Regions from separate parts of the Homo sapiens genome. Here all the other regions are linked to region 3. Evidence: promoter capture Hi-C in 16 types of primary human blood cells and fetal thymus (Javierre and others, 2016). All regions are on one chromosome and are shown on one strand. The core of a region is centred on a gene start or on the middle of the fragment in contact, and the rest is flanking DNA. Distances in the headings are between cores, read along the strand shown. Region 1 overlaps SPAG9 (sperm associated antigen 9). Region 2 has its middle 41 kb from the start of TOB1-AS1. Region 3 holds the start of MBTD1 (mbt domain containing 1). Region 4 overlaps SPAG9 (sperm associated antigen 9). Region 5 has its middle 10 kb from the start of WFIKKN2.

Region 1 (5,304 bases), core at 1,426-3,925, 270 kb after region 3:
GGCAGGGTTTCACCATGTTGCCCAGGCTGGTCTGGAACTCCTGGGCTCAAGTGATCTGCCTGCCTTGGCCTCCCGAAGTATTGGGATGCCCAGCCCTCTTAACAAATTTTTAAGAGTACAATACATTATCCTCTAGGTAGAAGTTCTGACACATGTTATAACACAGATGAACCTTGGAAACACTATGCCAAAGGAAATAAGTCGGACACAAAAGGACAAATATTATATGATTCCGCTTATATGAGATATCTAGAATAGGCACATTCATAAAAACATAGAGTTTCTGTGTGAGGTGATGGAAAAGCTTTAGAAATAGGCCGGCCATGGAGGTTCACACTCATAATCCCAGCACTTTCAGAGGCCAAGGTGGGACGATCACTTGAGCCCAGAAGTTTGAGACCAGTCTGGGCAATATAGTGAGACCTCATTCCACAAAAAATCAAAAAATGAGGCGGGAGGATAACTTGAGTCGGGGAGGTCAAGACTGCAGTGAGCTACGATTGCACCACTACACACCCACCTGGGCAATGGGAGTAAGACCCTGTGTTTTAAAAAAAAAAAAAAAAAAAAAAAAAAAAAGACCTGGCATGGTGGCTTACACCTGTAATCCAGACACTTTGGGAGGCTGAGGTGGGCGGATCACCTGAGGTCAGGAGTTCGAGACCAGCCTGGCCAACATGGTAAAACCCCGTTTCTACTAAAAATACAAAAATTAGCCAGGTGCAGTGGCAGGCGCTTGTAATCGCAGCTACTTGGGAGGCTGAGGCAGGAGAATTGCTTGAACCTGGGAGGCAGAGGTTGCAGTGAGCCGAGACTGTACCATTGCACACCAGCCTGGGCAACAAGAGTGAAACTCTGTCGCCAAAAAAAAAAAATAATGGTGATGGCTACACAATGTTATAAATATTAATGCCAATATTGTAAATATTAGTGCCACTGAATTGTACACTTTTAAATGGTTAAAGTGGCAAATTTTGTTTATATATATATTATTTTTACTGCAATAAAAGTTTTTAGTGTGATATAAATAAAACAATTTTCTAAATTAAAAAATGAGATTTATTTTTATATTGTAAATATTTTTATATTATAAATGCTTAGTTTTTAATGTTTTACTAATATCTTAATCAACCTATATACTTGGGGCATTTAATTTTTAACAGTAATGGATAGAAGCTTATACTTCAAGTAGTAGCAGTAGTCTTGATGATTTAAAAGAATTTTTTTTTGGCTGATGTTGTCAGATATAATAGATTGTTTTTAACCTGTGGCTGCTGAGGAGCTCACTAAGAACAGAAGCTGGCTAGGCGTGGTGGCTCGCACCTGTAATCCTAGGACTTGTCTGAGGTTGGTGGATCCCTTGAGGCCAGGAGTTCAAGACCAGCCTGACCAACATACCGAAACCCTGTCTCTACCAAAAATACAAAAATTAGCCAGGCGTGGTGGCTCACACCGGTAGTCCCAGCTACTCAGGAGGCTGAGGCAGGAGAATCACTTAAGCCAAGGAGGCGGAGGTTGCAGTGAGCTGAATCATGCCACTGTACTCCAGCCTGGGCGACAGAGTAAGACTCTGTCTCAAAAAAAAAAAAAAAAAAGTTTATTTTCTGACATTTTTATGTTTATTTGCACTTGTGTTAATAGAAGTATTTTCTTAATTTTTTAAGTTACCTTCCCATATTGTGAAGATTTGTTTATGTAAATTTAATGCTACCTGTATTCAACTACCTGTACATCTCACCTGCATAACTCTCATTTCAAACCTGTAATTGTTTTAGTAAAAAAAATGTTATTTATAGAAGTTTACTTTGCTGTTACAAGAAGATTTATTTTTCAGGTGCACGAGAAACAGACTACCCTGCAGGAGAAGATCTTTCAGAATCTGGTCAGGTAGACAAAGCATCTTTATGTGGAAGTATGACAAGCAACAGCTCAGCAGAGACAGACAGCCTGTTAGGAGGCATCACAGTGGTTGGTTGTTCTGCAGAAGGTGTGACGGGAGCTGCCACTTCCCCTAGTACAAATGGTGCTTCTCCAGTGATGGATAAACCACCAGGTATATCCATTCTCTTTACCTGCCATCTGTATAGAGTCTAAGGCTACACTCAGATGCCTCATTATGGACTTAATTTAGATCTTAAGTAACAAGGTTGAAAGAACTTGAAAGAAGATACTGTAGGCCGGGCGTGGTGGCTCACGCCTGTAATCCCAGCACTCTGGGAGGCCAAGGCGGGTGGATCACGAGGTCAGGAGATCAAGACCATCCTGGCTAACACAGTGAAACCCTGTCTGTACTAAAAAGTACAAAAAATTAACCGGGCGTGGTGGCGGGTGCCTGTAGTCCCAGCTACTCGGGAGGCTGAGGCAGGAGAATGGCGTGAACCTGGGAGGTGGAGCTTGCAGTGAGCCAAGATCACGCCGCCGCACTCCAGCCTGGGCAACAGAGCAAGACTCTGTCTCAAAAAAAAAAAAAATGCTGTAATGACTGTTAAATGGAATGAAGAATTCTTAATTTCATGGTACAGTGTGAAGGAGTGGGTAGATGGAATGGAATTCTATAACAGGGGTTTGTGTGGGGAAATAATTGGAGGAGAAAAGCCCAGACTTGGAATAGTGTTTTATTTACTTTGTAGAAATGGAAGCAGAAAATAGTGAGGTTGATGAAAATGTTCCAACAGCAGAAGAAGCAACTGAAGCTACAGAAGGGAATGCGGGGTCAGCTGAAGACACAGTGGACATCTCCCAAACTGGCGTCTACACAGAGCATGTCTTTACAGATCCTTTGGGAGTTCAGATCCCAGAAGACCTCTCCCCAGTGTATCAGTCGAGGTATAATAATGGGTCATCAACTTAGGCAACTGGGTGAAGTGCACAAATAAAAGGAACCAAAATAATCTCAAACAGTCAAAAGATTTCCACTAATTAGTGTCACTGTGGTGGATTAAAAGATACCTATTCTTGTGATAATTTCATGTATTCCCGCTCCATCATTCTCGCTGGATATTCCCCCCCATTTCTTCTGTACACCTTCCAATTTAAAAAAAAAATCTTATCTATAAAAGTATAATCATGCATCAGTCAACAATGGGGATATGTTCTGAGAAATGTGTCATTAGGTGATTTCATCATTGTGTGAACATCATAGAGTGCATTTACACAAATCTAGATGGTATGGCTTATCACACACCTAGGCCATATGGTATAGCCCATTGCTCCTAGGCTAGAAACCTGTACAGCATGTTACTGTACTGAATACTGTAGATAATTGGAACATAACGGTAAGTATTTGTGTATGTAAACATGCACAAGGTACTGTAGAAATATAGTAGTATAATCTTGTGGAACCACCACCATATATTCTGTCCATCATTTTCCAAAATGGTTTTACCAGGTGTGTGACTATATATTAGTCAAAATCTTTCTGTTCATTTTCTCCTCTGATCTGTTTTTTTTTCTTTTTTTTTGTACTTACTGTCTTCCATTCTATAAGTAATTCTTTGTCATTTTAATCCCACCCCTACTCTAATTTTCACTCCAGTTATCAGCAAAATTGGCCATTGTTTAAATCTGCCATTGTACAAGTTTCCCACATGGGTGTGGATGACCTTTTTGAATTTAGTTTTCATGCAAATATTTTATTAAAAAACAACTCAGATAGTTCCAGTGGCTCATGCCTATAATCCCAGCACTTTGGGAGTCTGAGCAGGAGGATTGCTTGAGTCCAGGAGTTCAAGACCAACCTGAGCAACATAGTGAGACCCTCATCTCTACAAAAAACTTAATGATTCGCTGGGCGTGGTAGCGTGCACCTATGGTCCCAGCTACTCAGGAGGCTGAGGTGGGAGGATTGCTTGAGCCCTGGGAGCTGGAGGCTACAGTGGGCCATGATATCACCACTGCACTGCCGCCTGGGAAACAGAACAAGACTCTGTCTCAGAAAACAAACAAACCAAAGAAAACTGTTTGTTTTAGGCTCCTCCGTTAAAGGGTTGGTTAATCTAGGCCCATTTAGTGAATTATTTTATTTTCTTTCCTGCCTTTTCTAGATCCCCTCTAGATGAGAGTCTCTTTAAACTAGATCCTTTTTAAAGTTTAATATTCTTAGTGTATAAAGTAAGAAAGATTAATTAATAACCCATTTATGCCTAGTGGTCCATTATTGGAATGCTAAGCTTGTGGGAGTTATTCATATCCTACTGCTCAAGGTCATCGCTAAGGTCTGATTTTTTACAAAAAAAATTTGCAACCTCCGGCATAAATGGGTTAATATTTAATTCTTTTTTTTTTTTGGAGATGGAATCTCACCCTGTCACCCAGGCTGGAGTGCAGCAGTGCAATCTCAGCTCACTGCAACCTCCGCCTTCCAGGTTCAAGCGATTCTCCTGCCTCAGCCTCCCAGGTAGCTGGGATTGAAGGCATGTGCTGCCACACCCAGCTAATTTTTGTATTTTTAGTAGAGATGGGGTTTTATCATGTTGGCTAGGCTGGTCTTGAACTCCTGGCCTCAAGAAATCCACCCACCTCACCCTCCCAAAGTGCTGGGATTATAGGCGTGAGCCACCGCACCTGGCCTGAATTATTAATTTAAGAATAAGTCATGTTTGAATTTGATAGCCTGGTTATATATCTTTTACTAAATATGCCCTGACAATTCAAAGGAAAGGTTTTGTGATAGAATATTAAACATATTTCAGTTTATTAATTTATTTTAGGTCATTCTTTATATTTCTCCCTACTATTTGTATGTGTGTATCCCTCCCTTCTCTCTCACTTGAGAAGAAACTATGACAAAACCCAAAATAAGAGACAGCCATAGTAATTGTCTGAATATTAACTGCTGTATTTCATTACCATGTCTTATTATCTTTTCTGCTCCTTGGGCTTCCTAGTTTGTTAATGTTATTTCTGGTACAATTGTTGAAATATGTGATGTAAGCTTTTGACTTTGGCTTTTCTGGAATTTTGGTGGTTTCTTTTTTTTTTTTTGACTAAAAGTTGAAGCCAGGTGTGATAGTGTGTGTGCCTCTAGTCCCTGTTATTCAGGAGGCTGAAGTGGAAAGATCACTTGAGCCTGAGAGGTCAAGGCTGCAGTGAGCCCTGATTGTGCCACTGTACTCCAGCCTGGGTGACAGAGTGATACCCTATCTCTAAAAAATAAATAAATAATAAACAAATGAACAAACTTAAATATAGAAGGATTCAGTCCCTGAAAACTATAACGATAGTTAAGTATACTCAGATTTCTTTCCTTTTGCCCTCCCTTTCCAGCAATGACTCAGATGCATATAAAGATCAAATATCAGTACT
Region 2 (5,247 bases), core at 1-2,500, 350 kb after region 3:
GAGGTTCTCGTAGTGATCAGCGAGCTGATGTCTGTGCAGGCCTAGCACAGGGACTGGCACACAGGTGGGGGTGAGCCCCGAGACCCCAGACCCCTTCCCTGGAGGGCACAGGAGTGGTGGAAGGGACAGGAGGTTTTCCAGCCCCAGTATCCAGGAGCCTTGGCACAGGGACTCTGATCAGGGGAGGGAAAGCAGTGAGAGAGCATAGCTTCCCAGAGAGCTCTGAAGGGGTCGGGGGACCAAAGGGGAAAGAAAATCACAAGCTCTCTTTGGGACTACCTGTAGGGTGAGCCAGGTTTCATGAGCAAGGAAAACCTCCACTTCATTTCCAGTCTCTCCATAAAGCCTGATGTTCCTCCTTTTGTGTTCCTCTGGGTTATAACAGGGTTAAACCCTATATTCCAGCCCGCAGCACAGGAAGGGGTCAGCCAGCAGGAGGTAACCCCTGGTGGAAAGGGAACAGAGAAGCTGCAAACACTGTCCAAAACAAACTTCTGCCACCTTACCACGTTGCCCTGGGCCTGCCCTATTTGCCGTCACCAGCAGAGGACAAAGAAAGGTTATGTGCAAAGGTACTTTGTGTTCCCGCGGCAGGGGGCCAGCGGGGAACTCTCGTCACCTGGTTGTGCTAGGGATTCCAGGGCATGCTCTAAACCACAGAGGAGGGCGGCCTCTGAATGGGGCCACGACAAAACAGGCCTGGGTGAAGCTGCTATTCGTCTGCTATGAGACCTGGAGGGGACTCAGTCCTCCAGCCTTGGATCACAGGACTCCCCAAGGCTACAAGGGCCATTGGGGGTGTCAGAGTCCTGGGACCCTGACCAGCTTCCCAGCCAGCCTCCAGGAGCGCCGTCATCCCTGCTGCAGAGAGAACACAGAGATTAAGAGTTATAGGCTTGGCTGGGCCAGATGCTATGGCTCACACATGTAATCCCAGTACTTTGGGAGGCAGAGGCAGGCAGATCACCTGAGGTCAGGAGTTTGAGACCAGCCTGGCCAACATGGTGAAGCTCCGTCTCTACTAAAATTATAAAAATTAGCCGGGCATGGTGGCACATACCTGTAGTCCAGCTGCTTGGGAAGCTGAGGCAGGAGAATCGCTTGAACTCAGGAGGCGGAGGTTGAAGTGAACAGAGATCATGCCACTGCACTCCAGCCTGGGCAACACAGCAAGACTCCGTCTTTAAAACAAAAACAAAAACAAAGAGTCACAGGCTTTAGAATCAGCCGCACTTGGGGTCAAGTTTCAACTCTGCCTCCTTCCAGCAGTGGGACCCAGGGCAAGCAATCAATTTCCTTTGAGCCTGAGTTTCCTCATCTGTGAAATGGGGCTAATCGTTGGGACTGTTTTGAAGACGCATGTCTTCTGACTCGTACACTGAGCACAGTGGCTGACTCAACTGTCAATGCCAGACATGCATAATGACAATATAAATGTAATGATAATTCCTTCCAGAAATACCTGTCGAGCACCTGTGACAGGCCAGGCACTGTGCAGGGTGCTCTTGAAGATATGAAGGTGAGTAAGACAAGTCCCACCCTGTCTGGAGGACATGCCCAAGAATGATTCTAACCAAACCTGAGAATGCTGAGTGATGGGAGGGAAGGCATGCAGAGGAGGTCAGCATAGGCATTCAGGGAAGCCTTCCTGGAGGAGGCAGCACTTGAGCTGGGCCTGGGCGGGTGGCTAGGACTGTGGATGTGGGGAGGAGAGGAAGGACATGCCTACATGAGGAAGGAAGTAGAGTGAAAGAGCTGTTCAAGTTTAGGGCACACAGAAGCTCCATGTGGCTGGAGTACAGTGCCCAGTGAGGACATGGGGGGTGGACAGCATGCCAGGTGGGACAGAGCGTCACTGTCCCCCAAATACACCATCTCCCTCTGCCTTGCTGGGTGACCTTGAGCTGGGTACTCTGTGTCTCTGAGTCTCATATCTCTCATTTGTGAAATTAAAGGTCTGGAGTGATTAGTGGTTCACCACCTTTCCCCCAAGAACTTTAGTTACTCCCTGTTTTTCTCCCCATTGTCTCGCATACATGTTGTGTCCTTGCATGAAGTCACTGAAGGTTTTGATCAAGGCTACGGATGATCAATCACAGGTGATGTGAAAAAGCCCCCTGGCTCCAGTGTGGTGATGGGTGGGAAGATGGGAGGCCCCCACCATGAGCCATGAGGGCCCTGGTGAGGACTGGGCTGAGGGAGGTGAAGGAGAAAACACCATTAGGAACTGGAGCTCTGGCCTAGAAGTCCTGACAGGGGCTGAGGGGAGTTAAGGGTCAGAAGGCAGAGCCTGGGTGATTGACGGTCAGATGTATAGGTTGGGGTTTCAGCCAGAGGGGCATCCCTCCCATCCCCAGAGGGAGAACAATGGGTTGGTTTAAACAAATTGAATTTGAGGCACCTCTAAGACATCATGGTAGACTGTCCAGTAGGGAATGGATTTTTTTTTCTTTTTTGAGACAGAGTCTCGCCCCAGGTTAGAGTGCAGTGGTGCAATCTCGGCTCACTGCAACCTCCGCCTCCCGGGTTCAAGTGATTCTCCTGCCTCAGCCTCCTGACTAACTGGGACTACAGGCGCATGCCACCATGCCCAGCTAATTTTTTTGTATTTTGTTTTTGTTTTTTAGTAGAGTTTTTTTTTTTTTTTTTTTTTTTAGTAGAGACAGGGTTTCACCACGTTGGCCAGGATGGTCTTGATCTCTTGACCTCATGGTCCACCCGCCTCAGCCTCCCAAAGCGCAGGGATAACAGGCGTGAGCCACTGTGCCCAGCCTTTTTTTTTTTTTTTTTGTTTTTTGAGACAGAGTCTCACTCTGTTGCCCAGGCTGGAGTGCAGTGGCGCAATCTTGGCTCACTGCAGCCTCTGCCTCCCAGGTTCCAGCTATTCTCCTGCCTCAGCCTCCCCAGTAGCTGGGATTACAGGTGCCTGCCACCATGCCTGGCTAATTTTTGTATTTTTAGTAGAGACGGGGTTTCACCATGTTGACCAGGCTGGTCTCAAACTCCTGGCCTCAGGTGATCCTCCTGCCTCGGCCTCCCAAAGTGCTGGGATTGCAGGTGTGAGCCACTGTGCCCCCCTGAACTCTTAACCAGTCTTTCTCATCCCTTGGAGAAATCCTAAAGTGCTCACAGAGGTGGTCCCTTCCCATTTCCACTGGCAGTAGCTCTGAATTCTGGTGTTCATTGTGGGCTGGGCGGGCAGAGGCAGAAGGGTTTGTGATGGGAGCAGGGTTTTCTGCCCCGGTCCTGCTGGCCCTTCTCTATTCTGTACTGGTCTTTGATGGGGGCCAGGCATTGGTAGGTGGGACTGATGATGGGCCTAATGATTGACTAGTGTATTCGCCAATGGAACACACGTGGGCCTCCTAACCCAGCAATACAAGGGGTCTGGAAGATCACCTGTTCCTGGCTCCCCACACCCCACCCCAGATCAGAAAAGAGCAGGGAGAAAGAGACCTGTTGCTGTTTTTTATCTTTATAAAATCCTAACAGAAAATAGAATATTTATCTGTGAGAAGGGTACACTGGCTTAACTAAAATGTCAAGTTTCATTGCTGGAATTATGAGGGACATGATAAATGTACATTTATTCAGTAATTACTCATTCAGGATTCTGTTTTGTATGAAACAAAACCAGGACATGCTGCTCAGAAGCTCTGATTAGTTTTGCTTCATACAAAATCAGCTCCTGGCCGGGCATGGTGGCTCATGCCTGTAATCCCAGCACTTTGGGAGGCCGAGGTAGGCAGATCACGAGGTCAGGAGTTTGAGACCAGCCTGGCCAACATGGGAAAACCCCATCTTTACTAAAAATACAAAAATTAGCCGGGCGTAGTGGCAGGTGCCTGTAATCCCAGCTACTTGGGAGGCTGAGGCAGGAGAATTGCTTGAACCTGGGAGGCAGAGGTGAGCCAAGATCGAGCCACTGCACTCCAGCCTGGGGGACAAGAGCGAGACTGTCTGGAAAAAAAAAATCAGCTCCTGAATTAATAATTATTGGATGAGTGTTACTTGATAGCCCTACATTTTAAGAACAGAGAGACAGAGAGAGAGAAAGAGTTTGTGAGTGTGTGTGTGTGTGGCGGGGGAAGAGGTACAGAGCTGAGGTAATAAAAAGGTAAAATGCTCTCATTTTACCAATGAGAAAACAGAAGTGTAGCGGGTAAGTGACCAGCTCAAGGTCACACAATGAGGCAAGGTCACACAGCAGGGAGGGCCAGACCCCAGACCCCAAACCTGGGCCCTCCCTGGTGCTCTTTGCTGCTATGGTTTTTGGGGGTGGAGTGTGTGAGGGAAGCTGAAGAGTTAACAATGAATTCTGTACCTTCAGGCCATGGCCAACAGCTGCCTGGGAGATAAGGGGAGGCGACCCCTGGGAACAAACAGCCTGTGGATTGGAGAGATTGAGCAAGGCTGGAAAAACAGGTGCAGGTGGCAACAGGGAAGGGGGTGGGGCAGGAGACAGAGCCAGAGGGAGCAGAGGAGGTTCCAGGGCTCCTGGGACCCCAGAGGGTCCCTGTTGCCAGAAGGCACTGGCTGGGCCAGAGTCCAGGGTGAGCAGAATCAGGTCCCAGGCTTCACCCTCTGCAAGCTTCTCTATGACCCCACAGGGGGTTAACTGGGCCTTGAATTGCAGAACCAGAAGGGGCTGAAGGGAGCACCCAGGCCTCAGCTGGCTCTGGTCTGAGACTCAGGTCAGAGGCAGAGGTGATGGCCACACCTGGGAGGCTGGGTTGCCCTTGGACAAAGCAGCGGCCGCAGCTGTTTAGGTTCTGCCACCCTCTCCCCTCCTCTGTCCCCAAAGGCTATCCAGCCCCCGCAGCAGTCAGTCCTTGGGTTTCACAGGCCCTGCCCTGGAGAGCTTTTCTTTAGAACCAGCCCCATCAGAAATCCCTCCCCCAGAGAATCACTGGGAGCTTAGGCTGCTGCGGGGAAAAGGGCACTGGGCTGAGAGGTGAAAGTCCGGGGCTCAGACCCTGTCCTGTCACAGATGCCCTGACCCTCTCTAGGGGCTGTTAAAACCATCCCCATTCAGGGTAAAGGTCCCCGGTGACACTCTGGGTTGGGGGAGCTGGGTGGGTGCCTGGGCGCTGCTCCCATCCCCCCACTCTGAGAGCTTGCTGTGTAGGCAGAGGCCCTGCCAGCCACAGGCTGCTGGGGCTGAGGCTGGGCTGGCTACGGGCTGGTCTCCTCCTCTTCCCCCAGCAGGGCTGTGGGGGCCTGCCCAGGCCCCCTGGTCCTGTGTTT
Region 3 (4,988 bases), core at 224-2,723:
GGTATAGAATTTAAAGGGATAGCAAAATGTGTGCAAAAAGTATGATCAATCACGCAGGGTTTGCCATTGCCAGAAAGGGTATCTGGCAACTAACAGGTTCACCAATATTTGCTAAATGAACGGAATACACGATCATTCTCAAAACATGGTGGGTCTCATAGTCACATGGGGACATAGTTACAACGGAGATGCCCAGGCCCGTGCCCACGAATTGATTCCATCAACGAAATCGAATTCCTGAATCACAAGGAACTGAGGCAGGTGATCAAAAGACCACCCTCAGTTTGGGAAGAGGCTAGCGGAGTCGAGCAGCAGCGAAAGATGCTCACGACCACAGTTCGCAAAGCAGATACCCGAGCAGCGGCGCCTCCAGGGGCGGAGAAAGACGCGGTCCCCGCCCTCCAGGCACTTTCAGTCTGGAGCAGGGAGGCGAGGGACCCGCAGCTGCGACCCTCCGCGCCCGCGTTCTCGGGCTCCCTCCCACCTGAGCGCTCCCCGCCGCCGCAGGTCGCCCAGGCTCCGCCCCCCGGAGCTTCACCGCCCACCGCGCGCCCCGCCCGAGTGCGCCCAGCCCGCGCGCCGCGGCCTCCCTCACCCTCGGGCCTCGCAGACGCCGCAGCAACGCGTCCTCGTCGTTCTCGACGTCGCCGAAGACCAGCTCCTCCAAGCACCGCTCCACGGCCGGTTTGTCCTCCTCCAGCCTCAGGCGGTTCCGCTGCCGGAGCCGTCTCTCTTCCTCCGCCGCCGCGACTGCAATCGCAGCGGCCGCCGCGCTCGGCCGGGCCGGCGGTTTCCGCTGGGATGAAGGGGCAGGCTTTTGGGGAGGCCCGCCTGGCCCCGCTCCGGCTTTCCAGTCCGGCCTCATTCCGGGCTTCCGCTTCGGCTTCGCTCCGGTTCTCCGGTCCAGTTTCATTCGTCTCCTCCGCTCCGGCGGCATCGTTAGGTTTGAGGAGAAACGCAGGCGCTCACGTGGAACCTCGCTGCGCATGCGCCCAGGCCCCTCGCGGGCCGCCGCCGCCGAAGCCCCGGGGGCCGGAAGGAGCCTGCGCAGCCTCTTGCCACGTGACCAGCACTCCCTCCCTCTACGTAACTCCCGCTCCCCTACCCAGCCCCGCCCCGTGTGGGAGTTCCTCCGGGAGGGCCAATCTTCCGGGTGTAGGGGGAAGCGGCGTGACTGGAGTGGAAAATTTTTCCAACACAATTTCGCAGCTGCAACATATTGAAAGGAGCGCAAGAAACCCCGACTATACACTGGGACGGCTGAATGGAACTTCTGCTTTTCCTCTTGGCTGTAACCACTTGACTTGACACAAGCCCCAATACGCTTTCCACCCTTCGTCTTGGTACGGTCCTTGGAGTACGGAGCCTGCAGAGGGTCCCACGGTGGAAGCGAGAGAGGAGGGTATGTAGGGAAGTGGGCCAATCGGGGCGCGGGTCACGGCGCAGGCGCGCTGGGGAGGGAGGGCTATGCTAATGTTGTTGATATCCTGGGGCCACCCGAGTTAAAGGGGGGAAATCCGGGGGCTGCTGCACCCGCCACCGGTCTGGGCCCAGCCGGGGGCCCCCTGTAGTCGCCGCAGTCCCGGGGAGAGGCACCTGCCCCCAGCCCGGGGAGGGGGCGCCGCGGGCTCGGGGAGCACGGACAACCCCTACCCATGAGGCCCTGATGGAAAACACAAAGGATCTGGTGAGAGCCGAGCGCGGCAGCCGCTTTGTGTGCCAGGTGGGGGGGACGCCTGCAGCTCTCCGACCCCAGGAACCCCGCAGCTCCCTGACCCCGCTCCCTGGCCTGCTTCTCCATCCCACGCCCTCTCAACCTCCGGAGCCCCCCTCCCCCTTCCAGCCGTTAAACGATTCAGGGGTTCCCCTCCCCCCACCCCGTCAGCCTTGGACTCGTTGGGGTTCTCTCCATCTCCTCCACCCTTTGGAAGAAAAATTCGAGAAGAAAGTTTTTCTCTGCGTCCTGCCCCCGCCCCCTGCTCTGGCTAGGGGGGAAAGGCTGGATCCGAGACTTTTCCTTTTTTAGCCACCCAGGGTGGGAGAGTGGAGTAGTCCTCTCTTCTTGGCGGGGAGGGGGAGCACAGTTTCGTTGCTTTGCAGGGGAAGGTGTCTATCTGCCTTGGGGGCAGTGCCGCGAGGCGGTTTGCACGTGGAGGTGGAAATATTGAAAGGGGGCGGGGTGGGCACGTGCGGGAGAGGTGGGAGTGGTGTTTGGGAAGCAGCCTCCAAGGCTGCATATTTAAAAGGGTTTCAAGTCGGTGGACTTCTGTGACCATTGCGTTCTCCTTTGTGAAATAAGAATCCTAACATTTCAGAGTCGGAAGAGACATTAGAGGTCATCCAAAGCAGCCGTCCCCTCTGCAGCCTCTCTGACAAGTGGTAGGTAGTCTGAACCCTGCTTACACCCCTAAAAGCACTGAGAGCTCACTACTGCCCAGGAAAGCCCATATTTCAGTAGTTCTAATTGTTGTCTGCCTACCCTTATTAGACCCTTCAGTCTCATTCATGTCCTGGTTAAGTTGCTCCTTTTTTTACTTCTCAAATTTTCTCTCACATCCTCCTCACCCACCCACTGCTCATTGGCCTATATTTTGTGTGCCAAGAAAGAACAGCAGGGAAGTGGAGGAAGGGGGGTTGAGAGATAGTGAGGGCTAGCCGAAAACTTTGCTGGGTCAGTGTCAAGTGTGCTGGCTTACATGCCTGAAGATGTTTTTCTACAGGAAGCTAAAGAATTACAATATGGGAATTTCGTGCCTGTTTTCTCTTAGGAGTGCATCTTTTTGAAGTTAGAAATTTCAGCGTCATCTCCGTGGTTCTTGTATCACAAAACACATTTGTTTATTACCTAAATCACTTCTAAGGATGTCTAAAACTGAAGTGGTTAGAAGCATCACCTGGTAGAGGGATGATTAGATGATTACCGCCCACACCCGTATTTGACCTGTGTTCCTCGGAAGCTAGTCTTTCCTCCAAGGGCCTCTCTTCCAAATGCTTTTACTCCTTCTTTTTTTTTTTTAAGTAACTATCTTTTATGAGATTTGAAATTTACGAACCATTTTAATACTTGTTTAGAGTTTACAATATTTTTAATTCTCCTTATATTAGCATGCACCAGTACTTATCACTGGGTGGTTGAGATAGTTGAAACTATTGTCACTGGGTGTTTTTCTAACATTCTCCTTCATTTGGTGAGCTATGCTGCCTCTAAAAGTAGTTTTATTGGCCTAAGAATCTTGGATATACCTATTACTCTCTAATGTGGTGAAGTGGGTGTCAAGACATAACAGGTATAATGTAGAAATAATGCATGTGATTTAAAAGCCAGCAAATAAATTTCACCTTAAGCCCCAGTCTCCTATTTAAAAGGTTAGACTCAATTTTTCTCTCCTCCTCTTATAACTTAGAGACTGTTGCTTTGCTCTTGTGGACTTAGACTGTTATTTTATTTTTCATTTGTTTACCTCAACACCAGAGTGTTTAGAAAGAAAATAGCTGTACTTTTTTTTTTTTTTTGCACCACCTCCTTCTCTGAATAACAAGTAGCTTCTATCTATCTAAAACCCCATACTGATTGCTTGTGAGTACCTTGCAAATTATGGCAACATCTGTCTTGAATAAGTATTTATTCATAGTGCCTTACGTTGTTGCGTCATGCTTTTTAACCATCCAGTTTCTAACTTTATGTAATGTTTGACATAAAATATTTCCTCTAAATCTACTCATTAGAATTCAGCTTGTGAAAAAGAATCAGTAGAGGTGTAATAATAGTGTTTTTAACATTTTAATTAATAAGGAGTTCCAAGTTTTTTTCCTGCTTACTTTAAACATGAACTGTCATGACTTAAGTTGACTGACTTTGGAGACATCTGCATTCTAAACATACTAGACAGGAACAACTGGTTTTATTTTTAAGACGCTGCCATATTCTTTAAAGCTGGTTATATGTTGACCTTATTATCTAAACCTTTCTAGATGTTCTAGTGCTGCTTTTGGTCCCTCAATAATGTTGAAAATTAAAACAACATTTTAAATTGTTTTCAAATGTAACATAGTGATCAAAGGAAAATATAAGCTATAGTTTAAAAGTGAAAACAACATATTAGGATAAATACTAAACCACTGAATTACTAAAAGCCAAGAGTGCTCAGTAGTCTGAGTAACCACATTCTAAAATTAGACAAGTGACATTCTTTGGGTTGCTCTTTGTTTCTCAGCTTTTCATCTTTAAAATGTTTGCTAAATAAGATATAACCTTTCACACTTATGTATCATTAGTCTGAGGGTTTCAAAATTCAAGAAAGAATAAAAACATCAGGACAATAAAAGAGAAAGGACTTACAATAGTTAAAACAAGCTAAGATATTTCTCCTAACACCACAGTATTCTTAACTGTGCAAGATGACTTTTGATTTCAGGCAAAAATTGCACATAGATTTAATCATTATTTTTTAATAAACCTTGGCTTAAGGATTTTTTTACCTGCAAATTTAGGATTTCTCTTCTTGCTTTGCTGGAACCCACAATAAAAGGTGAAAAGGAAATAATTCCCATTTGAACAAACCCTGAATATGAGATAGGATGAAGTGATACAATAAGAGGGGTGCTGGCAGTGAGGTTGATGTCACAATTCTGCCATTGAGTAGCTCCATGGCCCTTGTTGGACAAGATCCTGTGCCTCCATTTTCTCATGGCAGTTGAAGGGTTAGTCTAGTATCAGCATAATCCAATAGAAGTTTCTGCAATGATGGAAATTTCCTATATCTTTGCTGTCCAGTTACGGTAGCCACTAGCCACATGTGGTTGTTGAGCACTTGAAATGTAACTAGTGGAACTAAAAATTGAAGAACTCAATTTTTAATTTTGCTGTTTTAGGCAATGTAAATTTAAGTAGCCAAATGTCTGGCATACTGGACATACACACATAGAACACTGTTTTCTAAGCATAACTAATCATTATAATCACTTCTTGGAGGCTCTTGTTAAAATAC
Region 4 (5,647 bases), core at 2,806-5,305, 290 kb after region 3:
CTAACTAATAATGTTATGTTACCCACTTTTAGGCTTTTCTTTTTCCATTAACCCTGAATTGTCAGATAGACAATAAGCCCCAATATGAGCTTACTTTGATGTGAACCTTCAGGAAACATCCATCTAGCTCTAGTCACATTTCCTCTGTGTTGTATCAATCCTGCTACTACTACTTTCTTTCTTTTTTTTTTGTTTTGTAATCCTGCTACTTCTAAGGAACTTGGAATGTAAAACACTGTCTGCTTTAGTTTCTCAATAACGTGTTCCCTCCTTTCTTTACAGGTACTGGAAAACTGGGCTTCTCTTTTGTGAGAATTACAGCTCTTATGGTGTCTTGTAATCGTTTGTGGGTGGGGACAGGAAATGGTGTCATTATCTCCATCCCATTGACAGAAAGTAAGTATATTTTTAGATAACTGCCATGGAACAAATAGGAGAATTATAGGAAATAGTTATGTCTGAAATTCAAATCTGTGTTAGCTCAGAAAATCAGTGATGGCAAAGATCTAGCTATAGTTACTTCACTCAATGAAACTTATAAATTCTAGGAAAATAAGTTTTCATGTATCAAGACCAATACTCATAATTAAAAGTTTTTCGTTGTCAAAACATTTTCACAGTTCAGGAATCACAGTCCTATTTCATCTTTTGAAATAAAAGTTAAAGTCCATTTTTCTTAAGCCTTATTATACCATTATCCAAAAACACTACCTAGCATTCATCTTAGTTTTTCATATCTCCTTAGCAGATAGTTTAGTATATTCCATTTGTCTTATTTGAGGTTTAAAAAAAGTTGTGGAAGAAGTTTCTCAGGAGTTCAGCAAGCCTTTCCATCTATCTTCTATTTTAAAAGAATGTGATTTATTGTTTTTATGAATAAAATATACCTCGTGTGTTTCTCATATGATGTTCCATTACATTAATCATCCATTAAGTAAATGTTTTTGTGTTGCAAAATTCATGGCAGGGAATGGTTTAAAAGCAAATACTGTAAGTCTATAAAATACATTAATACATATACACTTCAAAATCACCATACCTTTTTTCAGGCCAGAGGAGGGAGAAAGACTAGAAGGTATTTCGGAAGCCTTTAAAAGAAAGCAAGGTTTCAATCCCACCTGTCTTTTCTGCAGTTACTTATAAATCATATTTAGACCTCTCCTTATATCCTAAGAGATTCCAGGATCCCCTAGAGTTCATTTCAGTTATTTGTAAGAGCTTCATTTTAGCATAGTTATTGGAACAGGATTTGTTTTTTAAAACACACACACACAGAGAAATAAAGGAGAAATTTTAGCATTTAGGAAATGCTGCACATTGAGTTCTTAGTGTTTTGATTCAGATTCACTAAAATTGCTTTATTATTTAAAAAAAAAACACCATAAATCAGATTTTCCTTTTTCAGCAGAGATTCTAATAGAAGCCTTGGGAAGAACTTTATGTATTACTTGGTATTATGCCAAGTGGGATCTTGTTATTTTCGTTAGGGGCTTTGAGCACCAGGTTTACCAGATAGAAGACGCTGAGAGTGGTGGCTCACAGTAATTCTCTCCTCCCTGTCATGCACCTCTCCATGTCCCCTTTCCTCCTTTCTCACTTTAGCCGTAATCCTCCACCAGGGACGTTTACTGGGGCTGAGGGGTAAGTGCAGATTCTGAACCAAACTCTTCTTCCTGGCTTCTAATAGCCACTGTAAGGCTGTTACCACTCCTCTAGAATACCCTCTTGAATGTTCCTAAATGTTATCCACTTGCAGTCACTGCATCGCAGCAGGTGTCTTTTTTTTTTTTTTAATGTTTGTTACATGGCCACCAAACTGCTCAGCAGCTTAGTCTATTTATCATCTTTTGTTGCAGCTGAACTTTCTTTCAGACTTTGTTTTCCTTCCAGTATAAACATGAAACATCTCTTAAAGCTGTCATTAATTTACATCGTTTACTCTTGTTACCGATCATATTTCTTTCATTTACTTACTTGCCCATGGAATGGGGATGTTTTGTGAGTCTGGTCTTTTACAGTACGCAGCACACCATCAGTCTGGTATCAATAAAAGCTGCTCTATTGTAGTGGCTGGATTCTTGTAAGCACAACTTTTTACCAACCCCCTCAAGGGAAATATTCTTACTGTGAGGGAGAAAAATCAGAAGATAAACTATAAAGAAAGACTTTATTTGCAAATATACCCATTTACTTTAAACTGTATAATGGTTAGTTTTCTAACATGTGCATTAAAAACAAAACAAGAAACAACTAAGATTCAAATTTGTTTTTTTTTTAACTAAAATTATTTTTTAAATGAATAGATGTGTTTAAAAAATAAGCTTACTTATTGCTAGACTGGCAAAATCCCCTACTCCATTTACTGAGGTACTTAAAAATAACTAGCATGCTGTATCTCTTTTTTTCCCAGCTTTGTCTTGAATTGGCATTGCCATCCTTGTTTTATCTCAACTGGCTGTAGCTTTTAGATAATATCATAAGGATTAACCAGTAACCTCTTACATTCATTACTGTTTTCTAGGGGAAAATATTTGGTATTTGGTTTTTCTGTTGCAGCAAATAAAACCTCAGGTGTACCAGGAAATCGTCCTGGAAGTGTAATCCGTGTATATGGTGATGAAAACAGTGATAAAGTGACTCCAGGGACATTTATACCCTATTGTTCAATGGCACATGCACAGCTTTGCTTCCATGGGCACCGGGATGCTGTGAAATTCTTTGTGGCAGTCCCAGGTATGTTAGATTATTCTGTTGAGATGTTCCATGTAATTGTCTCTCTTCTGTCATCTCTTGGTTCCACTACCTAATAGTCTAAGGCTAAGTACTCGAATTGCAGGTAATTTCAATATATACGAAGGAAGTTCTGTAATGGAGGTGTGACTAAGGTGCTATAGGGATACTTGAATGAAGTTACTTTGGAATATCTCTCCCACCCCCAAAGATAAATTTGTTGATTTTTCTTTAGGAGACTTGCTTACTTTTGAAAAGCAGTAGTATTATTTTATCATCGTGGATTGCCAAAAATGGTCTTGACCTAATAAGAGAAATCACTAGAAAGAAGCTTCTATCATCAAGGCTGCATGGAGGAAGAGAGAATGCACTCTGGTACCTTTAGCAGCTTAATAGGAAAAAGCAGTGAACTAGGAGGCCTGGGGGTCTGGCCCCTGTGTCTCTGCCACTAACCTCGAGCAAGGCACTTAACCTCAGAGACTCATTTCCTCACTCCTAGGTGGATGTGATTAATATCTGCTCTGCCTACTTCATTTGTTATGAAAATTAATGAAAATGCTACTGGGAGCTATAAAGCACCACCCAGAAAAAAGATGGAAGTGATGATGTCCAGTGAAAAATGACAAATTATCCATTGACAATACTTAAGTGATGTCACTGACCATCTGTAAGCAGGACACAGGTTTTGAATTTTTTTTTCCCATAAGAGGCAAGTTTAGGAGCTAGACGAAGTTCAGATCTGACTTTCCCCCACCAACTAACTGTGTGATGTAGTATATTAGTCAGGGTTCTTCAGAGAAACAGAACCAATAGGATGCATGTGTATGTGCGTATGAAGAGAGAGTTACTGTTAAGAAATTGGGTCACACAGTTGTGGGGACTAGCAGGTCTGAAATCTGCAGGGCAGGCTGGCAGGCTGGAGACCCCGGGAAGAGTGGATGTTGCAGTCCAAATCTGAAAGCAGTCTGGAGGCAACATTTCTCTTTCCTCTGGATCCCTCAGTCTTTTTCTTCTAAGGCTTTCAACTGGTTAAATGAGGCCCACCCACACTGTGGCGTGTAATCTGCTTTACTCAAAGTCTGTTGTTTTAAATGTTAATCACATCTAAAAAAGACTTACAATGATATCTAGACTGGTGTTTGACCAAATATCTGGGTATCGAGCTAACACGTCAAATTACTCATCATACTTATTTTCCCAAGGGTCTTCCAAAGATTAAATGATTTTATGTACATGGGGCAAGGGCTGGCATATGGTACCCTAAGCAATTATTCAGTTATTCTTAACAACAGTGATAATGAGCTTTCTGAAACCTCATTTGTACATTTTATATATTTGTATAGTCATTTCCTTCCTAGAAATGGGATTGCTGGTAACAGTGTTTCTCTTGCTTAAAAAAAAATGAAATATCACAGTTTCCTTTAAATCTCCTTTGTATCCCTCTCCAATCCCATTCTCCTCTCCTTTTCCTCTCCATTGGTAACCACTATCTTGAAGTCGATGCAAATCCTCTTGCCCCTGTTTTTGTATTTTTACTATGTTTGAATGTGTTTATAAACAATGTATGATTGTTTTGTGGTTTTGGACTTTACATGTTAAATGTTGTGTTTTATATGTATGCTTCTACAACTTGCTTCTCATTTTTTGAGATTTATCAATGTTCATACATAAAAATCTAGTTTATTCATTTAACTGGTATTATAACTGAATAAAAGTGCTACATTTTATTCATTCTTCTGTTGATGGACCTCTAGGCTTCTCCCCTTTCTTTTTTCACTATTAAAAACAATACTGAAGCAGACCTTCTTGTGTGCATGTGTAAGGATTTTTTGTTGGGTATAAATCTAAAAGTGGAATTAGCAACATGGTTGTTGCGAGGCCAGTTGGCCCTAAAGATTAAACCATTCTGGTTGGCCTTATCAGTAATACCACTGTGCTCTTGCTTCTGTGGCAGAACTAACTCGTCTACCAACAGAAGTCATTGCTGGCATGCTTGATTTCTTCCAAAGTATAATTGAGTAATGCATGAATGAATCCCTGTGGGGATACGTCAGACTATCCTATCCACTTTCAACATACATTAATTTTGTTACAGTGTGTCGCATTAATGGCTGTCCAGCTAGCTCCTGGAGGCGCAGTCTGTGTAGTTTGACCAAAGGACAGCAGATTCTGACAAGGAAAAAAATATCCCACAATTAAATCTTGCTAAGAGGGTTGGCTTAGAGATTGCTCATTTGTTCATAGTTGTGAATAATATTTAAAGGTTTCTCTCTTTCTATTATTTCACACTCAAGGATTCTACCTTAGAACTTAAGCTTTAGAACAAACAGCACATTTACTAGTAATTTTGTTTGCATAATCTAAATTAAAAATAACCTGTATTTTCCTTAAATATGAGAGGAAAGCCATAGATTTGAAATAAATTTAAATGTTAATTATGACTATGCAAACTCATAGGGCTTAAGTTGAAGACTTTTCTCAGTCTCTTACACAAATAAGCACATTCCTTTTCAAGGGAGAGACCTTTTCCACTGTCTTCTCAGATCAAAAGATTTAGACTATAATAGTTTGAAGCAGGTAGGCTGTGCATGGTGGCTCACACCTGTAATTCCACAACTTGGAAATCAAGGCAGGAGGATCACTTGAGCCCAGGAGTTTGAGACCAGCCTGGGCAAACATAGCAAGACTTCATTAAAAATTTTTAAGAGACCAGGCACAGTGTCTCATGCCTGTAATCCCAGCACTTTGGGAGGCCTAGGTGGGTGGATCACTTGAGGTCAGGAGTTTGAGACCAGCCTGACCAACTTGGTGAAACCCCATCTCTACTAAAATACAAAAATTAGCCGGGCGTTGTGGCAGGCACCTGTAATCGCAACTACTTGGGAGGCTGAGGCAAGAGAATTGTTTGAACCCCAGA
Region 5 (5,395 bases), core at 857-3,356, 410 kb after region 3:
CTTCTTCATTAAATTCCTTGCCTTCAGAATCATAAGCAGGGAATCATTTGGTACTGTGAGGGATAGACAAGCCTCCATCCACAGCTCCCTTCAGTGCCCCAAAAACTTTATTGCCAATAGTAGTTCTGGCAAAGCCTGCATCCAAATAGCAGGTGAAGGCACCGGGCTGACCATCAATGCTTTCCACATTATAATTCATCTCTGGTCACCTTCTCTTGGCCATCATAGATCTTGTCCATGCCGAACCTATTGAGAAGCCTGCAGGTCAGCACAGGCTGGTACAACAGGCTGCAGCGTCATCTGTCAGGCCAACCTTCACATTGCATTTTGGCAGTTCATGTGCATAAGCTGTACAGACTATCATATCCCCTTCTATGTGAGCATAAGTAATCTGACAAATGATATCTCTATTAGTTACATGACTTTTCCTGTATTTGGGCATGTTATACTTGTTTTTATCCTATATCACCAAGGGTTTCCAAAGATAGTAATCAGTTTTACCCTCTTGTCATTTTCTAAATTTCACGTGTATCTCTTAAAGTAGGCCTAGTTCTTGACGTCTTTAACCACCCCCATCCTGCAGAACAGAGCCCCCTGGGCCCTCTTTTTAAACATTTATGCAGCACACTTATAGCAGCAATGACCACTAACAAAATAATTATTAGACTTTTAGTCAGCACTTCCATGCAAGAAACAAGATGACAGCTGCAGCATAGGTGTCTCTGAAAAGCTGCTGAATAACTGGCCTGGTGGCAGGCTGATTCCTGGGAGGCGGCAGCTGTCATGGGCACTGTGCTGTGCCATGGGAGGACTTAGCCTCTCATTCCCACTGTCTCCTTCCCATCAGCAGCACCCCTACCATATTCAGCTAAAAGTTTGGAGAACTCATCTTCACCTGCGTGTCATGACTGCTGGTGCTGCGTGTGTGTGCGCACTTATTTGTGTCCCTTTTTGGGAACTCTGGGGTATTGAGGGAGGCCATCAAGAACTTTATTTGCATGAAGATATATAAACCTGGCCAAGCACAGTGGCTTACACCTCTAATCCCAGCACTTTGGGAGGCCGAGGCAGGTGGATCACTTAGGTCAGGAGGTCGAGACCAGCCTGGTCAAAATGGCGAAACCCTATCTCTACTAAAAATATGAAGATTAGCCGGGTGTGATGGTGGGCGCCTGTAATCCCAGCTACTTGGGAGGCTGAGACAGGAGAATCACTTGAAGCCAGGAGGTAGAGGTTGCAGTGAGCCGAGATTGCACCATTGCACTCCAGCCTGGGTAAGAGAGTGAAACTCCATCTCCAAAAAAAAAAAAAAAAAAAAAAAAGAGAGAAAAGAAAAAAGATGTATAAGCTTTTCAGGAGAAAAGATGAGGGCATACTGAGGCTGAGATCAGGGTCATGAGACAATGGGAGTAAAGAGAAATTTGTGTCAATCCTTTGTAACAGGGGTGTGCAATAGAATTTCCTGTAATGTTGGAAATATTCTGTCTGTGTTGTCCAGTATGGCAGCTACCAGCCACATGAAACATGGCACTTGATCCATAACTAGCGTAACTGAGGAAATGAATTTTACGTTTTTATTTAATTTAAATTCATTTACATGAATTCAGTACTAACAGTATTGAAGGGTATGGCTTTATAAAATTTCTGTAAACCCTTGGTACTCCCAGAGGTCAAGGACCAGTTGGAAGTGGTGGTTATGGGTGTTTAGAAGGGGAACCGCCATTTGGGGTCCTCAGCCTTTAACTGCGATGGTTAAAATACATATGTAATATCGTGATAAGGGTACAGGTACCAAATTCGGACAGACTTGGCTTTGAATCTTGGCTCTTTCATTTAATGACCCTATAGCCTTGGGTCCTTTAAACATTTAGAGTCTCCGATTCAGCATCTGTAAAATAGCACCTATGAGGGCCTCTTTTCCTCCATAAAGCCTATAGGGCTTGCCCCATTCATTCATTCATTCGACAAACACTTAATGAACATGGTCAGGCTTGTGTTTGGTGTATAGGTCTTTGCCCTCCTGAAGGTTGCAGCTTAGAGTGTGATCTGCCAAGTGGTGAAATAGTAAAATAATATGGTGCCTTCAGAGGGTTGGGAGGATTCAACCGGGCAGTCCACGTAAAGTGCCTGGCGCAGGGGTTAGCATTCTCATGTCCACCCCACTCCTGGCACTGTGCTTCTCCCCTGCCCAGGGTCCTTGAGAAAACCCTAGGCCCCTCCTCGCTTCCAGGCTACCCACCCAGAAAGGAGATAAAGTCACCGTCGTCTGCTCTCACTTAGACTATGGACAGAATTGGATGCATCCCTCACATCAAAACAGAAAACAAGTTATCTGGATGGGTCCACCTCCTCCCGTCGGGTCTCTGGCAGTGTCCTCAAGGCCTGAAAAGGGCCGAAAGCACGCAAGTGCCCCCTTTGCCCCTGACAGACACCTGGGAAGAGGCCCCACCTCCAGGAGAGGCTAGTCTATGTTGGGCTGGGTTCTGCTTTCCCTCATCCGAGTGGGGTTGAGGGTGGCCAGAGTATTGCTGGAGACCTAGTGGAGTACCGTGTCCCGGGGTAATTTGGGACGGGACCGCAGGGACTCCAACGTGACCCTGAAATGGGTCGAGGGCCTCAGGAGCCTGGGAGGCAGGCAGGAGAGGGGTGAGGGGCTTGCCCACCTGCCCACCCTGCCCTCTCCCTCAGGAGATGTCAGCTGGAGGTTTACTCTTCCTTCCTCCTGACACAGCCTGAGTGAGGAGTGTCACCTGACCTCAGGGCACATTCCAGAATGAGGCCACAGCCAAGAATAGGGCCCAGGAACCCTGCCACCCATCCCGCCTGCATTAATCACAAATTCTCCAGAGTAGGAGGGAAGCTTCAGACTCTTCAGAGAGGTGGGAGGAAGAGGAGGAGGAGGAGGCAACATGAGGTGGAGCTGGGAAAAAGAGGGAGGACCCCAGAGAGGCCCCTTCTAGGCTTGTGGTTGTTCAGTGCAGCAGCGCTGAGTGGCCCCTGGTCCCAGGACCCTCTGTTTCACCCAGCAAGCACCCCCATGAGCTCTGAGAGCTGGGCCCACAGCTTCCTGGAGGCCCTAGGCAATGATTCTGATCTGGATCAGCACAAACACAGAGGGAGAGGGACTCAGAGAGGAGTGCTCACACAGCCGGGGGACAGCAGAGGCTTCCCCAAGGAGCTGAGTCTTGAAGGATGAGTAGGCAGAAGGCTGATGAATCTAGGCCAGGACTGCTTGTGTGTGTGATAGAAATACTTGTCACAGGGTGAGGTTGTAAACAGCCCTGAGTGGTATGTGTGTGCTGATGGGAGGCAGTCTCTTTAGAGATATTTGGGGTCCTGATAGGACTCCACACTGCCCAGCCCAGAGCAGGGTGTGTGTGTGTTTGTGTGTGTGTGTTGCACACTAGGAGAAACAACATAACATGAGCATTAAGAGCTCTGGGCTGGGCGCGGTGGCTCATGCCTGTAATCCCAGCACTTTGAGATGCCGAGGCAGGCGGATCACCGGAGGTCAGGAGTTCGAAACCAGCCTGACCAACATGGCAAAACTCTGTCTTTACTAAAAATACAAAAATTAGCCAGGCATGGTGGCACACGCCTGTAATCCCAGCTACTCAGGGAGGCTGAGGCACGAGAATCGCTTGAACCCGGGAGGCGAAGGTTGCAGTGAGCTGACATCATGCCACTGCACTCCAGCCTGGGTGACAGAGTGAGACTCCATCTCAAAAACAAAACAAAACAAAAACTCTGAAGTCAGACTGGCAGGATTCAAGTCTTGGCTCTGCCACTCATCCGATTTGGGGCAAGTTTCTTATCCCGTCTAGCCTTAGTTTTCCTACCTACAAAATAGCCTTCTGTCTCCTCCAGTTGCAGTGGAGCTTACAAGAGCTGGTACCTGGCACATAGGACGTGCGCAAGCATGCTGCTGTTTTACAATAGGACAAGGGGACGGAGGGAGTTCCCCACGGCCTAAGGCAATCACCGATGCTGTGGACTCTAGTCAGGGTTCACCCCATCCCTGCTCTCCAGCCCCACTGTCCGGGGGGTGACATCAGACTACGGAGCGGCTGGCTAGACAATGGAGCAGAGTGTCCTAGCAGGCTGGAGGTGCTGGGGGAGGCGGAGGGTGGAAAAAGCCAAGCTGCCCTGCCCCAGAGGCCCTGGGGGCTGATCTGGAGACAGGCCCGCTCGGGAATAGTCCTCTGAAGAGGCAAACTGAGGGTCAGAACAGGAAGGAGAGAGCCAAGTGGGTGCAGGAAGGTGAGGAGTGAGTATCCAGGGCAGACAGGAGACAGGTGAGTCTAGCCTGGATAAAGGGGCCTCAATTTCGTTATGTCCCAGGACCTAGGCTGGGGCCAAATCTCCTCGATTTGACTGAGCAAAGCAACCTCCCGAGACTGGCTGGCAACCAGGCCCTGGGAGCTCCATCCACCCTTTCCTGAGCTCCTGCTAGATGCCAGGCTTTGTATAAGGCCTAGGGTAACAGAAAGAAAGGACCCCGGCTTGGTTTCAAGGATAGAAAATGAATGCCAGGTAGTAGGTCAGAAGTTATAATAGGTTCGAAACCACCCATTCCCTAAGTGCCCATATTTTCTGAACCCCAAATCAGTCTATAGTGGGTGTTCACTTTGGATATACTCTGTGAGCAATAGAATAAAACATTTGAAACTGCAAAGCCCCAGACCCAGAAACGTGAGGGGAGGCCTTTCGGTTCTGGGGTCTGTTCTGAGCTGAGAGCTGCCGAGGGTGGGAGGGGGCAGGGGGCAGCCACTCGGCGCCAGGTCCTCCTTCCTGGGCTTTCCAGTTGTACCCGGTTAATAGGGCCCAGCTCCCAAGCCTCTTGTAGAGTGATCTTACTACCCTCTGTTTTACAGATGAGGAAACAGAGACTCAGAGAGATTGCAGGTAAGCAGCAGAGCCCAGATTCAGACCTAGGCAAGTCTGACTTCACGGGCTGAGTTTTCTCGCTCTGCCAGGTGGGGCTGGAGTGTGACAGGGATCCCAGGTCTGGGGCTGTATGTGGGCAGTGGTCTGGTGAGAGGGAGCCCCACAGTGGGATTTTCCTGAACCTCACACCTTCATCAGGGAAGCAGACGTGCGACTGGGGGCCCTGCTGTCCCGGCCCAGCCGCACGTTCAGGTCCCGTATCTGTGCAAATGGGGTTGAAAAGGGAGGTGACAGGTGCTGGCATGTGGACAATTGCCCCCACAGCTTGCATGGTAATGTGCTAGAGCTCGAGCTGGAAGCAGGTGCACAGAATGTCCCTGGGCCTCTGAGGACAGGGTGAGACCATCCTCACCCTCCTTGGTTACCTGACCTGAGCAGGGTGGGGACCCGTGGCTGCTGCTCACACCACTTTGGTGGCTAAGTTTTGTGCTCAGTGTTCTCCCGATGT

Evidence for each region. The method cuts DNA at HindIII sites, captures the fragments that hold promoters and counts their contacts. A CHiCAGO score of 5 or more calls a contact.
Region 1: a fragment that was not itself captured here is called in contact with the fragment with the promoter of MBTD1 in region 3 in 4 of 17 cell types (monocytes, total CD8 T cells, total B cells and 1 more); the score reaches 6.7 in monocytes.
Region 2: a contact is called between a fragment that was not itself captured here and the fragment with the promoter of MBTD1 in region 3, in 1 of 17 cell types (neutrophils). The highest score is 6.1, in neutrophils.
Region 4: a contact is called between a fragment that was not itself captured here and the fragment with the promoter of MBTD1 in region 3, in 1 of 17 cell types (non-activated CD4 T cells). The highest score is 5.2, in non-activated CD4 T cells.
Region 5: a contact is called between a fragment that was not itself captured here and the fragment with the promoter of MBTD1 in region 3, in 1 of 17 cell types (neutrophils). The highest score is 5.3, in neutrophils.

What each region holds. Positions count from the first base shown.
Region 1 is chr17:50,987,199-50,992,502 of GRCh38, reverse strand. SPAG9 (sperm associated antigen 9) reads left to right here. Exons shown (of 30, transcript NM_001130528.3): 20 at 1,835-2,053; 21 at 2,631-2,826; 22 at 5,266-5,304. Among named protein-coding and RNA genes, the nearest start is that of TOB1-AS1, 120 kb to the right of the region's middle. The HindIII fragment of the contact is 2,993 bases long and covers 1,179-4,171 here.
Region 2 is chr17:50,904,770-50,910,016 of GRCh38, reverse strand. No RefSeq gene overlaps it. Among named protein-coding and RNA genes, the nearest start is that of TOB1-AS1, 41 kb to the right of the region's middle. RefSeq lists enhancers at 1-275, 276-1,186 and a silencer at 455-749. The HindIII fragment of the contact is 6,686 bases long and covers 1-4,593 here.
Region 3 is chr17:51,256,534-51,261,521 of GRCh38, reverse strand. MBTD1 (mbt domain containing 1) reads left to right here and starts at 1,473. Exons shown (of 17, transcript NM_017643.3): 1 at 1,473-1,687; 2 at 2,316-2,379. UTP18 (UTP18 small subunit processome component) reads right to left here and starts at 976. Exons shown (of 14, transcript NM_016001.3): 1 at 596-976. The coding sequence starts at 937. RefSeq lists silencers at 426-615, 966-1,075, 1,416-1,735. The HindIII fragment of the contact is 12,089 bases long and covers 1-4,988 here.
Region 4 is chr17:50,971,857-50,977,503 of GRCh38, reverse strand. It overlaps SPAG9 (sperm associated antigen 9), which reads left to right. Exons shown (of 30, transcript NM_001130528.3): 27 at 283-396; 28 at 2,557-2,733. Among named protein-coding and RNA genes, the nearest start is that of TOB1-AS1, 110 kb to the right of the region's middle. The HindIII fragment of the contact is 1,984 bases long and covers 3,064-5,047 here.
Region 5 is chr17:50,843,132-50,848,526 of GRCh38, reverse strand. It overlaps the pseudogene RPL5P33. Among named protein-coding and RNA genes, the nearest start is that of WFIKKN2, 10 kb to the right of the region's middle. RefSeq lists an enhancer at 3,582-4,107. The HindIII fragment of the contact is 1,512 bases long and covers 1,351-2,862 here.